2 separate regions of the Homo sapiens genome follow, and region 1 is linked to region 2. Evidence: promoter capture Hi-C in human tissues and cell types (Jung and others, 2019). All regions are on one chromosome and are shown on one strand. The core of a region is centred on a gene start or on the middle of the fragment in contact, and the rest is flanking DNA. Distances in the headings are between cores, read along the strand shown.

Region 1 (5,782 bases), core at 3,120-5,619, 310 kb after region 2:
TCACTGGAGGGGAGCTGTCCAAGTTGGGCTGTACCCAGCCTGCATTAGGGCCCCTGACATGAGTACACGCATACGCATGCACACACACACACACACAACACACACACAACCTCAGCATGCACATACACACGCCACTAGGAGCACACGCATACCACCGCGTGTACACACACGCGCACGCACACCCTTCTTTGGTCTTGGTCATCACAATAAAACGACTGCTTTCTGCCCGTCCTCCCTGCTGGGCTGGGAGCCCCATGAGGACAGGATGCGTCTGCCTCTTTATTGCTGCATGGCCAGGGCCTACATGACACAAGTAACAGTCAACACTTTGATCTACTGAAGTGCTGTTGAACTGGTTCCTAGTGACATCCATGGGTTCACAGAAATTGCCCACCTTCCCGTTGCTCCAGCCAAACATCTAGCAACTGTCCTCAGTGCCTCTTCTGTCACATCTAATATATCCGCAAATCCTACAGGCTCTACTTTCAAAATATCTCCAGAACCTGACCCCTCACCACTTCCTCCACCGTCAGCCTGGTCCCAGCCACCAGCATTGCTCTCAAATTCCTGCAGCAACCCCCCAACTCGTCTCTTTGCTTCCATCCCCCACATTCCAGGCCAACCTCCCCTGGGACTGGGGAGTTAGTGAAGAGGAAAGAGTGGGACAGCCGAGAGCCACACCTGTCTCACCAGCGTGGCCACCCTACAGCACAGGGCCTTCAGACAGGGACTCTTCTGGGTGCTGGAGCTTTGAGTGCCTGGGACCCTTACACTCTCAACACAGCAGTCCAAGTGAGGAACAAAATCACATCCTTTCCCCACCCAGAACCCTCCACCGCCTCCTTGATTCACTCGCATGAAGGCACAGGTCCTTGTAGGGACCCACAGTGCCCCAAAGGAGCTAGTCCCAGGGGCCTCTGGTCTTTGTAACACCTGTTCCCTCCCCTCCAGCCCCTCCAGCCTCCTTGCCCTGCCTGAGGTGCACCTGGGATGCAGGCATAGGCTTGCAAAGCACCTCAGGGCATCTGTGCTTGCTGTCCCCTCTCCCTGCAAAGCCCTTCCTCTGGAATGTGGCTGGGCACATTCTTCCTCACCTCCTGCTCAGCTTCTCAGGCAGGCCTTTCCTGACCGCACCCACCACACCACTGAAAATCACAGAGTCCCACCGCCGCATTCCTCCCTCCTTAATCTTTCCCCATACTACATCTCACCATCTGATACACTGCAGGTTTTACTTATTTATTGGCTTTCTATCTATTTACTATTATTTTTGAAGCAAGGTCTCACTCTGTCGCCCAGGCTGGAGCACAGTGGTACGATCTTGGCTCATTGCAGCCTCGACCTCCCAGACTCGGCCTCCTGTCTCAGCCTCCTGAATAGCTGGGACTACAGGTGTGTACCACTGTGCCTAGCTAATTTTTATATTTTTTGTAGAGATGGGATTTTGCCATTTTGCCAAGGCTGGTCTTGAACTCCTGAGCTCAAGCAATCTGCCCACCTCGGCCTCCCAAAGTTTTGGAATTACAGGTGTGAGCCACTTCACCTGGCCTTGGCTTTCTAACTATCCACTCTTCTGCTGGAACTTAAGTTCCATAAGGACAGAGACTTTTTCTGTTTTATTCACTGCTACGTCCCCAAGACCCATGACAATGCCTGGCATATAGTAGGTACTCAATAAAGGTTTGTAGGTAGCCATCTGGGTTTCTGATTTGGTTTTATTTCATTGGGGGGAAAGGCTGTCCTTCCTGGTATTTGCTGTTTTCTGGGATAATCTGCAGATGGGGATGGGGTAAAGGTGGAAGTGAAAAGTTCAAAGGCCAATGTCAAATGCTCCCCAGAAAGGATCTGAGAGGAAGACCCCAGAGCGTGACATGAAAGGGGCTGGGAAGTCTCAGGCAGGAGGCCACCTGCATAGAGTGAATAGGTGTCTCTTGGGCTCAGGGCCCCAGGACATATGACTGGGCTTAGGCATTAATCAGGGGCTACTCAATATCCTAGAAGAGCTGCCTTTATCACAGCTGGGCTGGGCCCTTCACCAGCAAGGGCTGTGGTGGGGCTGCCCACGGCTGCCCCAGGGAGGCAGATGTAGGAGTCAAAGGCTGAAAACTCAGGGCTCGGGGATCTGCCGATGATGGGAGTGCAGATCACTCACTGCAAGAGGTGGCGTGGGCTTCCATCCTGATGGGAGCATTGCCACACTAGTACACTGTCATTGAATAAACTGTGACTTAATGTCTCACAATTAACCAAGCTGATTTTCATCTTCCTTTTAAAAAGCCATCGTGTTTCTAGCAGTTACGAAGTATGTTTTCTTTCCTAAGATGTGACGTTTATGGAGACAGCACAGTAAATTTTTAAAAATTAAAATTATTTTTTAAAAAGCAGGGACTTGGAAAACTTCACTTTAGCCCTCGCTTGTATATGGCCTTAGACAAGTCCCTGAGGCAGGCCTGCACTCGAATCCCTGTTGTGTCACAAGGTATGTGACCTCAGTGAGCACCTTGGCCTCTCTGGGCCCCAGTTTCTTTCTTTTTTTAAATTTTAGAGACAGGATCTCACTCTGTCACCCACGCTGGAGTGCAGTGGCACAGTCACAACTCACTGCGGCCTCCAACTCCTGGGCTCAAGGAATTGTCTTTTCTCAGCCCCCACTCCAAGTAGCTGTGACTACAAGTGCTCACCCCCATGTTCAGCTAATTTTAAATTTTTTTGTAGACACAGGGTCTCACTATGTTGCCCAGGCTGGTCTTGAACTCCTGGCCTTAAGCAATCCTCCTGCCTTGGCCTCCCAAAGTGCTGGGATCATAGGTGTGAGCCACCACACCCAGCCTGGGCCCCAGTTCTTCACCTGTAAAGTGGGAGTAATAGTAATTACTCGCCAGGTTGCAGTGGGGAGTGAATGAGGTGATAAATATAAGTGCTTAGCTCATAGCCTGGCTCAGAAGAGGTGCCCAGTAGATGTAACTGGTATCAGATTGGTCACTGTTGTATCCTAATTCTCTGTTCCTAAAACTTCTTCTGGAGGGGGCCATTTCTGGAGACTCTGGGCTCCTGCACTTTGACCTCTCCATGATTTCTCAGTAAGTGGGTTCTAATCCCAGGAGTAGGAAACTCGAGCAGGAAATATCATGGAGTGTTCCCAGATGCCTCAAGGAGCTTTGAAAAGACAGAGGAGAGAGAAGAACGGGTAGGAGGGGAAGATGGGGTTTAACCAGAGTATGCCCAAGACCAGGAGGAATGGATGGGCCCAGCGAGGGGCCAGCAGGGCTACAGGAGAAGAGGAAAGAGTGGGAGAGGCCAGAGCTACGCCCGTCTCAGCAGTACAGCCACCTTACAGCACAGGGCTTTCGGGTGGGGACTCTCCTGGGTGCCAGTGCTTCGAGTGCCTGGGACTCCCCTCTCTCAGGTTGGCCTTGTGTGCACCCCAGCAGTCGGCCAGCCTACAGTGTTGGTCTGTCAGGGTGAGTGGGGGCGGGAGGTTCTTCCAGGGCTGATCTGTGGGCAGAGGGGAGAGGCCACCATCCAGACAAGCTCCTTGCTCCTGACATGCCCTGTCTACTGCTGGGGGTGTGTGGATTGTTTCAGAACTCTGCCAGGCAGGCAGGAAGGAAGAAGGACTCAGCACCAGGCCAAAGTGGAAGGATGTCAGTATTTGGCAGAGAGGAAATGGAGGGCTGAGGAGAGAAAAGGAGGCAAAGGGGTTGGCAGCACCATGCTGTTGCTAAGGGGTACCCAGCACCTTTGGGGTCTAGAGCACCGTGGGAGCCACGGCCTGAACCAGAGTTCAGGATGCAACAGGGCTGCTGTTTCAGACCTAAGGAGGTCCGGGGAATGGTGTCTCCTAGTCCCAGCTCCCTGTCAGAATGCTGTTACCTGGAATGAGTCATATCCCCTCTCTCAGCCTCAGTCTCTCATCTGCAAAATGCAGAAAATGCTACCTGTCCCTCCTGCCTTGCAAGGTTATCTGAGGATCTGGTCAAGGCATGGCCATAGGCGCCCACCAGGGCCTGGTGGAAGGACCGGGGATTGACGCCTCCAAGGGGCCTTAGGAGACCTGCGTTCGAGTCCCCACTCTGTCCCCGGTTCCCAGAGGACCCTGGGCAAGCCTTGCCCCTCTCCTAGGACTCAGTTTCCTCCTTGAAGAAAGAAATGCCTGCAGCACACACAACTCAAAAACCAAACACAAAAATCACTCCACAAACCACTCCACACAAAAACACACTCCAAAAAAAAGGAGAAAAAGCCCAGCCCTTTTCCCGAGTCTCAGCACAGTGGGAGCTCGGGACCAAGCCCCACCCAGGCCGCTGAGGCCTCTCCCGCCATCCTCAGCCCCGGGCTGGGGTCTTTTACCTTCGCAGCAGCTGCTGAGTGGCGCAGAGTACCCGATGAATAACCACAGAGAAACTACAACAGGAACCACGGTGCAGGGTGAGATGGGGAGAGGAGGGGCAAGGAGAATGTGGTGGGTCACAAAACCACTCAAAATCCACCATGGAGAGAGGGGGACCCTCAGGGAGAGGTCTGGGGTCCTGGAAGCTCTGTGATGCCTTGGTGGTCCTGAGGGCAGGGGACAGCCAGGCACCTAGACAGGCATGGAAGGGGCAAGGACTGTCTTCTGCGTGAGGACTTCATGCACCCTCCAGGAAGCCATGGGACAGGAGGAAAATATGAAATAAAAAGGCATGCAACCCAGCAGGAAAAAATCCACTAGACCCTCACCCTAGGGCCTAAGGAAAGGCGGAGGGGGCTGTTCTCCCACTGTCTGATGGGGTCTGGGGCTGGCACAGACATGCCCTCTGTGCCAGCTTCTCTGAGTATCCACACCCACCCCACATCCTTCAAGCTGGATGTGCTCTTTCTGCCCATGCTCTCTTTAGCAGCTGGATTCCAGGGGGTGAACCCCCACAGTAAACCGATCCCTGACCGGTTCTGCTCTGTGACCTCTCAGGTGACCCTTCTCTGGGCCTTGCACCCCAGCCATATCCCCAGTTAGTACAATAAGAGGACCAGATGGGAACACCTTTGAGGCCCCTCCAGGCCCCTCCTGGAGCCACAGCAAAGCTCCATACCCATTATGTGGCCAGGGGGCTCAGCTGAAGCTGTTGGACAAGGGCAGGGCTTAGACTCAGGCCTGGCCCGTGGGGGCCCTTCCCGAACAACAGAAACCGCACCCGGCTTACCATGGCGACATCGGCCTGGAAGATCTGCTTGATGAACTTGTTCCTGGAGGAGTGGACCAGCTGGATAATGTCCCCATGCAGGGTGTCTCGGTTCTTCTCCAGGAAGCCTGCAAGCAGCAAACAGCAGTCACCTCTCACCAGCTCTGGCAGGCCCTCCCCAAACCCATAACATCTGAGCCAGGAGGACCCTCAAAATCCACCTAGTTCCACCACATCCATTTCATGACGGGGGCCCTGAGGCCTGGAGGGGACAGAGACTTGCCCAAGATCATAGAGAAAGTGAGGGGCCATCTCCCCAGTGACACAGCTCCCCTCTTCCAGGCCTGTTCAAGAAGGGCAGGGGGGTCTCAGTCTCCAGGAGAAAGCAGGCCTCCTTCCTGACCAACCACCCCAAAGCTACCATGAGTCTTTTGAACTAAGATATCAAAAGGCCTTGTTAAGTAAGTGTGTCACCTGGGAGAGAATGCATGTTGATCTGGTACAAGCTAATATTAAAGGAATTCATTAAAACCACCTTGTGGTTGGACAGTGTGTTATGTTTTATGAAGACCCCTCACAGCTCCTTCTATGTGGGACAGGTAGGGATTACCTCCTCTGCCCCC
Region 2 (5,764 bases), core at 1,760-4,259:
TAGAGCAGTCACCTTTGATTAGAGATTGTATTAGTTTCTTATGGATGCTGTAACAAATTATCAAACACAAAGTGGGCTTAAAACAATACACATTTATTTTTATTTTTTTATTTTATTTTTTGAGATGGAGTTTCACTCTTGTCTCTAGGCTTAAGTGCAATGGCGCAATCTCGGCTCACAGCATCTTTACCTCCTGGATTCAACCGATTCTCCTGCCTCAGCTCCCGAGTAGCTGGGATTACAAGCATGTGCCACCACGCCCAGCTAATTTTGTATTTTTAGTAGAGATGGGGTTTCACCATGTTGGCCAGGCTGCTCTTGAACTCCTGACCTCAGGTGATACACCCGCCTCGGCCTCCCAAAGTGCTGGGATTACAGATGTGAGCCACTGTGCCTGGCCAACAATACACATTTATTATTTCACAGTTCTGTAGTTCAGAAGTCCTAAATGGATGTCAGTGGGCTAAAATTAAGGTATCATCAGGATACCATCTCTTCCTTTCCAGAGGCTCCAAGGGAGGATCCATTTTCTTGCCTTTTCCATTTTCCAGTCTGCTCCCAAAAGCTGGAGAGTCCCTTTCCCCAAATCCTCAATTTACTCACATCTGCAGAGTCCTTTTGTCATGGAAGGTAACATATTCATAGTTCCCAGGGATTGGAATGTGAACATTCCATTGGATGAGCCATTATTCTGCCTAGTGCAGAGATCACGAAAAGACAATCCAGATTAGAGTCAATTTACTGGGTTAGGATCCTGGGTTAAGTTACTTAACCCCTCTGTGCCTCAGTTCCCGCATCAATAAGATGGGTGAGGATAACAACAGTATCTACCGTAGAGGGTAGAGGTTTAAAGACAGTGTTTGTAAAGTGCTCAGAACAGTACCTGGCACATAGAAAGAACAATAGGAACATTTATTAAATACATTTTTTTTGAGACAGAGTTTTGCTCTTGTCACCCAGGCTGGAGTGTGGTGGTGCAATCACAGCTTCCTACAACCACCGCCTCCTGGGTTTAAGCAATTCTCCTGCCTCAGCCTCCTGAGTAGCTGGGATTACAGGTGCCTGCCACTACGCCCGGCTAATTTTTGTATTTTAGTAGAGATGGGGTTTCGCCATATTGGCCAGGCTGGTCTCAAACTTCTGACCTCAGGTGATCTGGCTGCCTTGGCCTCCCAAGTGCTGGGATTACAGGCGTGAGCCACCGCGCCTGGCCTTATTAAATATATTTTAACAACATATTGATACTTAGGTATATGTCAAGCACTGTTTTAGGTGCTGAGGATATGGAAAGGAATATGACTTGGAACTCAAGAAATTAGATACACAAATGCAGTTACTTCCATAAAAGGCATAGAAATACTATAGAATTACAGTTTTGTTAAGGCTTAGGGAAACTTTAGAAATATTAGTCAAATGAATATGAATATGAATATGAATGACATTTGAGCTCAGCTTTGTACAATGAATAGGTGTTGGCCAGTCAGCTAAGTAGGGAAGAGCTTGAAGACATGAAGAAATGTGTATTCAAATAACGTTAATATTTCAGTGTGCTTGGAGCAAAAAATAAATGATGTGAGACAAAGCTAGAAAGGCTAGTGTAAGCAGTCAGGTAATAAAGTGCCAAGTTCAGGAGTTTGAACTTTATCCTGAAAGCAATAAAATCCTTTCGGTGTTTAAACGGGAGGACATCATCAGATTTGTGCTTTTATAAGGCTACTCAGGTAACTAGTGAGAAAAATAGATTGAGTTTGAAGAGACTAAAGGTTGCTCCAGTTGTTCAGGTGGTGGTAGTAGAAGACGACACAGGCAAGGACTTGAAAAATATTTAGGAGAAGCTACAAGACTTGGTGTCCAACTTGATATGGATGTTGAGAGAGGAAGAACGGGGAGCTATTAGTATGTCTAGGTTCCTGGCTTAGGGGATTGTTGAATGGGTGGCCCATTCATTGAGAACGGAAAGGAACGTAAGAAGCAATTTTGGGGGGGAAATAATAATAATAGCCAACATTCTAAAGGGCTTGTTACTATTACCATGGTAAAACTGAGGCTTAGGAAGACCTAGTTAAGGTACTACTTATTATTACAGAAAAATTACGGCTTAGAAATGTCAAGGTCCTATCACTAATATTTGAATAGCTAGGATTTCAAGCAAGGCAACCTGATTCCGGACTCTTAGCCTTTCTAATGCTGTCTCAGTTTCGCACATGTTGAATCTGAGGTACGAAGAGTATGCAGGTAATGCTGCTCGGGAGGTATTGGGAAATACACAATCTGAGCTCAGGAGAAAGAAAGCTTTGGGTCGAAAGTACCCTCCACGGTAGGGGAAAAAACGTGAAAGGAAGCCCATTCTTTTCGTATGTCAGTTCACATTAGTTCAAACATCTCCGTTATAATTTCTTTGTCTTCCTCCCACCCCTGCCCCCTCTCCCACAGAAAGAAAACATAATACATGTCTGGCTGTGAGATCACACGACATCGGATAGTTTTCAAATTCAGCCCTTGACAACGAGCTCATAGATGCGGTGGTGCTTTGTTAACCTGAAAAGGACCCTCAGCGCCGGAAGTTAGCCGTCTTTCTCCATCCTGACTACTACAGTAGCCCTCCCAGAAATCGTCCCAAAATTGTCTGATAGAAAGGCTGCACGGAAACAACCCGCCACGGACAGCGGACCGAGAACAGTGACGCGACGCGATGACGTCACGCAGCAAGCGGGTGATTCCCCAGCCTCTGGCGTCACGCGCCGATGACGTAATCCCAGGCGTTCGCCCTCATGCGGGCCAGGGTTTGGCCTCGCTCCCACGGGTCGGTCAGGCCCTCCCCGCCCCCTCTCACCTGCGGGAGGCGGGGCGGGCACGGCTCCACCGGAGCCGCAGCCGCCGCCGCCGCGCCGGGGAGGGGGAGTGGGGGAGGGGGAGGGGGAGAAGGGGAAAGGGCAGAGGGGAGGAGGAGGCGGGAGGAGGAGGAGTAGGGGAGCCAGTGAACTAGGCGGTCAGGCCTGCCGGGCGGCGTACAATAGCGCGGCTGTGGGCGGGGGAGGCTGCCCTCCCGCGGCTGCAGCCGGAGCCGAAGGTGGTGGCTGCACAGTAGACGCCCCCTCACGGCTTCCCCCACACGCTCCCGCCCCCTCGCTCGCCCATCGCGCTTCCCTCACAGGCTCTGCAGTCCTCCCCCACAGACGCCTTCCCCCTTGGACTCTCATTCCCTTTTCCACGGAGCCCCGCGCTTTCGTGAGCCCCCTCGAGGAACCTGGTCTCCGCATCCAGTTACCACCTCCTGCCTCAGAGGCCATCTGAGCCCTTCGCACCTCGCCCCTCAGTCCCCCCTTCCCCCCCCGCCCGCGTCGCCTCGCTCCCTCCCGCCCCCCCATCATCCCTTCCCTCGCAGTTCCCCTGTCCTGAGGGGAGCCCCGCCACGGGCAGCGCGGCGGCGGCGGCAGGAGGGAGAAAGTGAAGCGGTAGCTCGCGCACACTCGCGCCCTCACTCCCGGCTAGGCGGCACCCACCGCCGGGAGGAGGAGGAGGAGCCGAGAGGAGCTGAGCGAGCGCGGAAGGTGAGAGCGGGCCTACCGCCCAGTACCCCTCGCGTCCCGGGCTGCCAGGGCTGGGGCGCGGGGGTGGGGACGGGTGGAGTGGGGGTCTGGGCCCATTTATTTCGCGTTGCGGGGCCGGGCGCCTGGGCGGGAGGAGGCGCCAGGTAAGGTGAGGCGGGCGGCGCCCCGCGAGGCCCGCTCCCGTCGGGCCAACAAAGGCCCCCTGTGCGCGTACCGGCGGGGTCGCGGGTCTCAGACGCCGGGCGATTCGAGAGACCTGGGAGAGGGAAGGGGCGGGGCGGGGCCAGGCCAGGCTGGAGCCGGGAGGCCACACGAGTACCGGTCCGGGACCGAGTCCGTCCCGAACTTCGCAGTCCTGCGGCGCTCACCCTGTCCCGCTACGAGGAGGCACAGCAAAGCGGCGCCCAGTTCCTTCTGCATGGAATAAATGACCCCTTCCAGGCTTGGACAGTCACCTTTAGGGTTCTACTCCCTGAAAAATAAGGGCTGGTAGGACTTGACTTACGCAGCCCCTCCCCCACCCCGGAATATTCTGTAACTTGGGAAGTGAAAAACAACCGGGGAAGGAGATTTATAGTTATTTTATGTTCATTATTACGTTTGAAAAGACATGATTGTTGTAGCCTTCGCTATCCTATTTCAGCAGTACACATTACTGGGAGTGTTTTGGAAGAATACTTGAGAAGTAGTGGGTGTGGCGTTGTGAGCAACGTCCTTGGTTTTTAAACCCCTTGGATAATTGTTCTACTGTTACAAAAACTGTGAACAGTGAAGGGAAGGGTTAGTTCCGTGGTTACTAATAAAAATTCAGATTCATTAGTCTTGACTTTAAGAATTGTTCCTGAGAACAATCTTTAATTTTGCCTCCTACATTTTTGGGTTCTCTTTCAACTCTGTCAGGAGAAAGTAGGAATTATCAGTACAGATACCTCATCTCTCTTACCCTGTGGCTTCATCTACTTCTTGTGTGACCTTGAGCAGGTCACTTCCAGCCTTAAAAGCTCCAGAAGTTTGGTTTTATGCCCCAAAACGGGCAAGTAGCAAGCACCGGACTCAGCTTTCAAGAGTCCACTGAAGAATTCCCACACTGTGAAGTCTTTGCTGGCCTCCATCCTGTCTCTCCTCTTACAGACAGAGCTGATTTCTTCCCATTGGCCCGGTGGGATTTCTACCACAGCACTTACAACATTTTGGTTCCTATTTGGAAAATTCTAAGTCAGGTGCATATAAAAACTCCCCACCTCAACTAGAAACTATGCCTTTCAAAAAGGGTTTTGGGAACATTGACCCTGAAAACTTCCCATACTTTCCCTGAAGCTTATCCATACTCTTTAACTACATGAGCTCATGGGTCTACCTTGGTAAATTTGCTTATTCAGTCAATTCGTTTATCCAACATTACTGGAGTTCGGAGAGCTACTATGTTTCAGGCCTCTTGCTAAGGCTATGGGGATTCAGTCTATTAAGATATTCCCTGTCTTCAAAGAGCTCAAAGTCTAATGGGTGAGGTAGACAAGTAAACAATGAAGGTCTGCCCTAATCTCTGGGGGACTCCAGTTGTACAGGTAGTAGTGTGCAATAATTGAGGCTGCTGGACCTGTTTTACAAGTCTTCTCTTGGCCAAAGTGAGTCCTGCAGGGAAGGTGACCTGCCTCATCCATAACAGGGCATTTGGTAAAAAGCTTGTTCAGTTCAATTCAATATACATTTACTAAGCACATGTTTTGAGTCCCTGTGCTAGGTTTGAAGGAAGCAGTGCCTCAAAGGAAGGTACTGTGCATCCAGAAAGATTTCTGTAAAACAAAACCTTACCACATCAGCGCCCCCTACCCCTGACTCTTCATATTCTGAAGATAAATTTCAGAGTAACATGGAATAAAAAGCTCTCAGGGATCAGACCACTGCCTGCCTTTGCAGTCTCACTTTCTGTGGCTCCCCTGCCACTCTCATCTTCACTCTTGCATGTTCTGTTTTCTTCCTGGAATGCTTCCCTTCCACCCCTTACCTGCCTGTGGAGATGACCTTGTTGGGCCTCTGGGATGCAGTCCCTTAGTCTCTCCTTTTCCTGCATAGAATGAGTTGCTCTTCCATCCTCTGGCTCATGTACATACCACTTTTATGGCCTTCTGTAGCGCTCTGTTGCAATTACTTGAGTTTGTGCCTGTCTTTTTTTGGTAGCCTGTGAATTTCTTTTCTTTAATAAGCCCTTTAAA

Evidence for each region. The method cuts DNA at HindIII sites, captures the fragments that hold promoters and counts their contacts. A contact is called where the count stands out against the background at its distance.
Region 1: a contact is called between a fragment that was not itself captured here and the fragment with the promoter of PAK1 in region 2, in 1 of the 25 tissues and cell types used here (thymus).

What each region holds. Positions count from the first base shown.
Region 1 is chr11:77,165,561-77,171,342 of GRCh38, reverse strand. It overlaps MYO7A (myosin VIIA), which reads right to left. Exons shown (of 49, transcript NM_000260.4): 15 at 5,181-5,287. Among named protein-coding and RNA genes, the nearest start is that of MYO7A, 40 kb to the right of the region's middle. The HindIII fragment of the contact is 9,813 bases long and covers 1-5,782 here.
Region 2 is chr11:77,471,339-77,477,102 of GRCh38, reverse strand. It overlaps PAK1 (p21 (RAC1) activated kinase 1), which reads left to right and starts at 3,009. Exons shown (of 15, transcript NM_002576.5): 1 at 3,009-3,551. RefSeq lists silencers at 2,775-3,134, 3,365-3,414, 3,435-3,744 and an enhancer at 2,985-3,901. The HindIII fragment of the contact is 5,525 bases long and covers 1-5,051 here.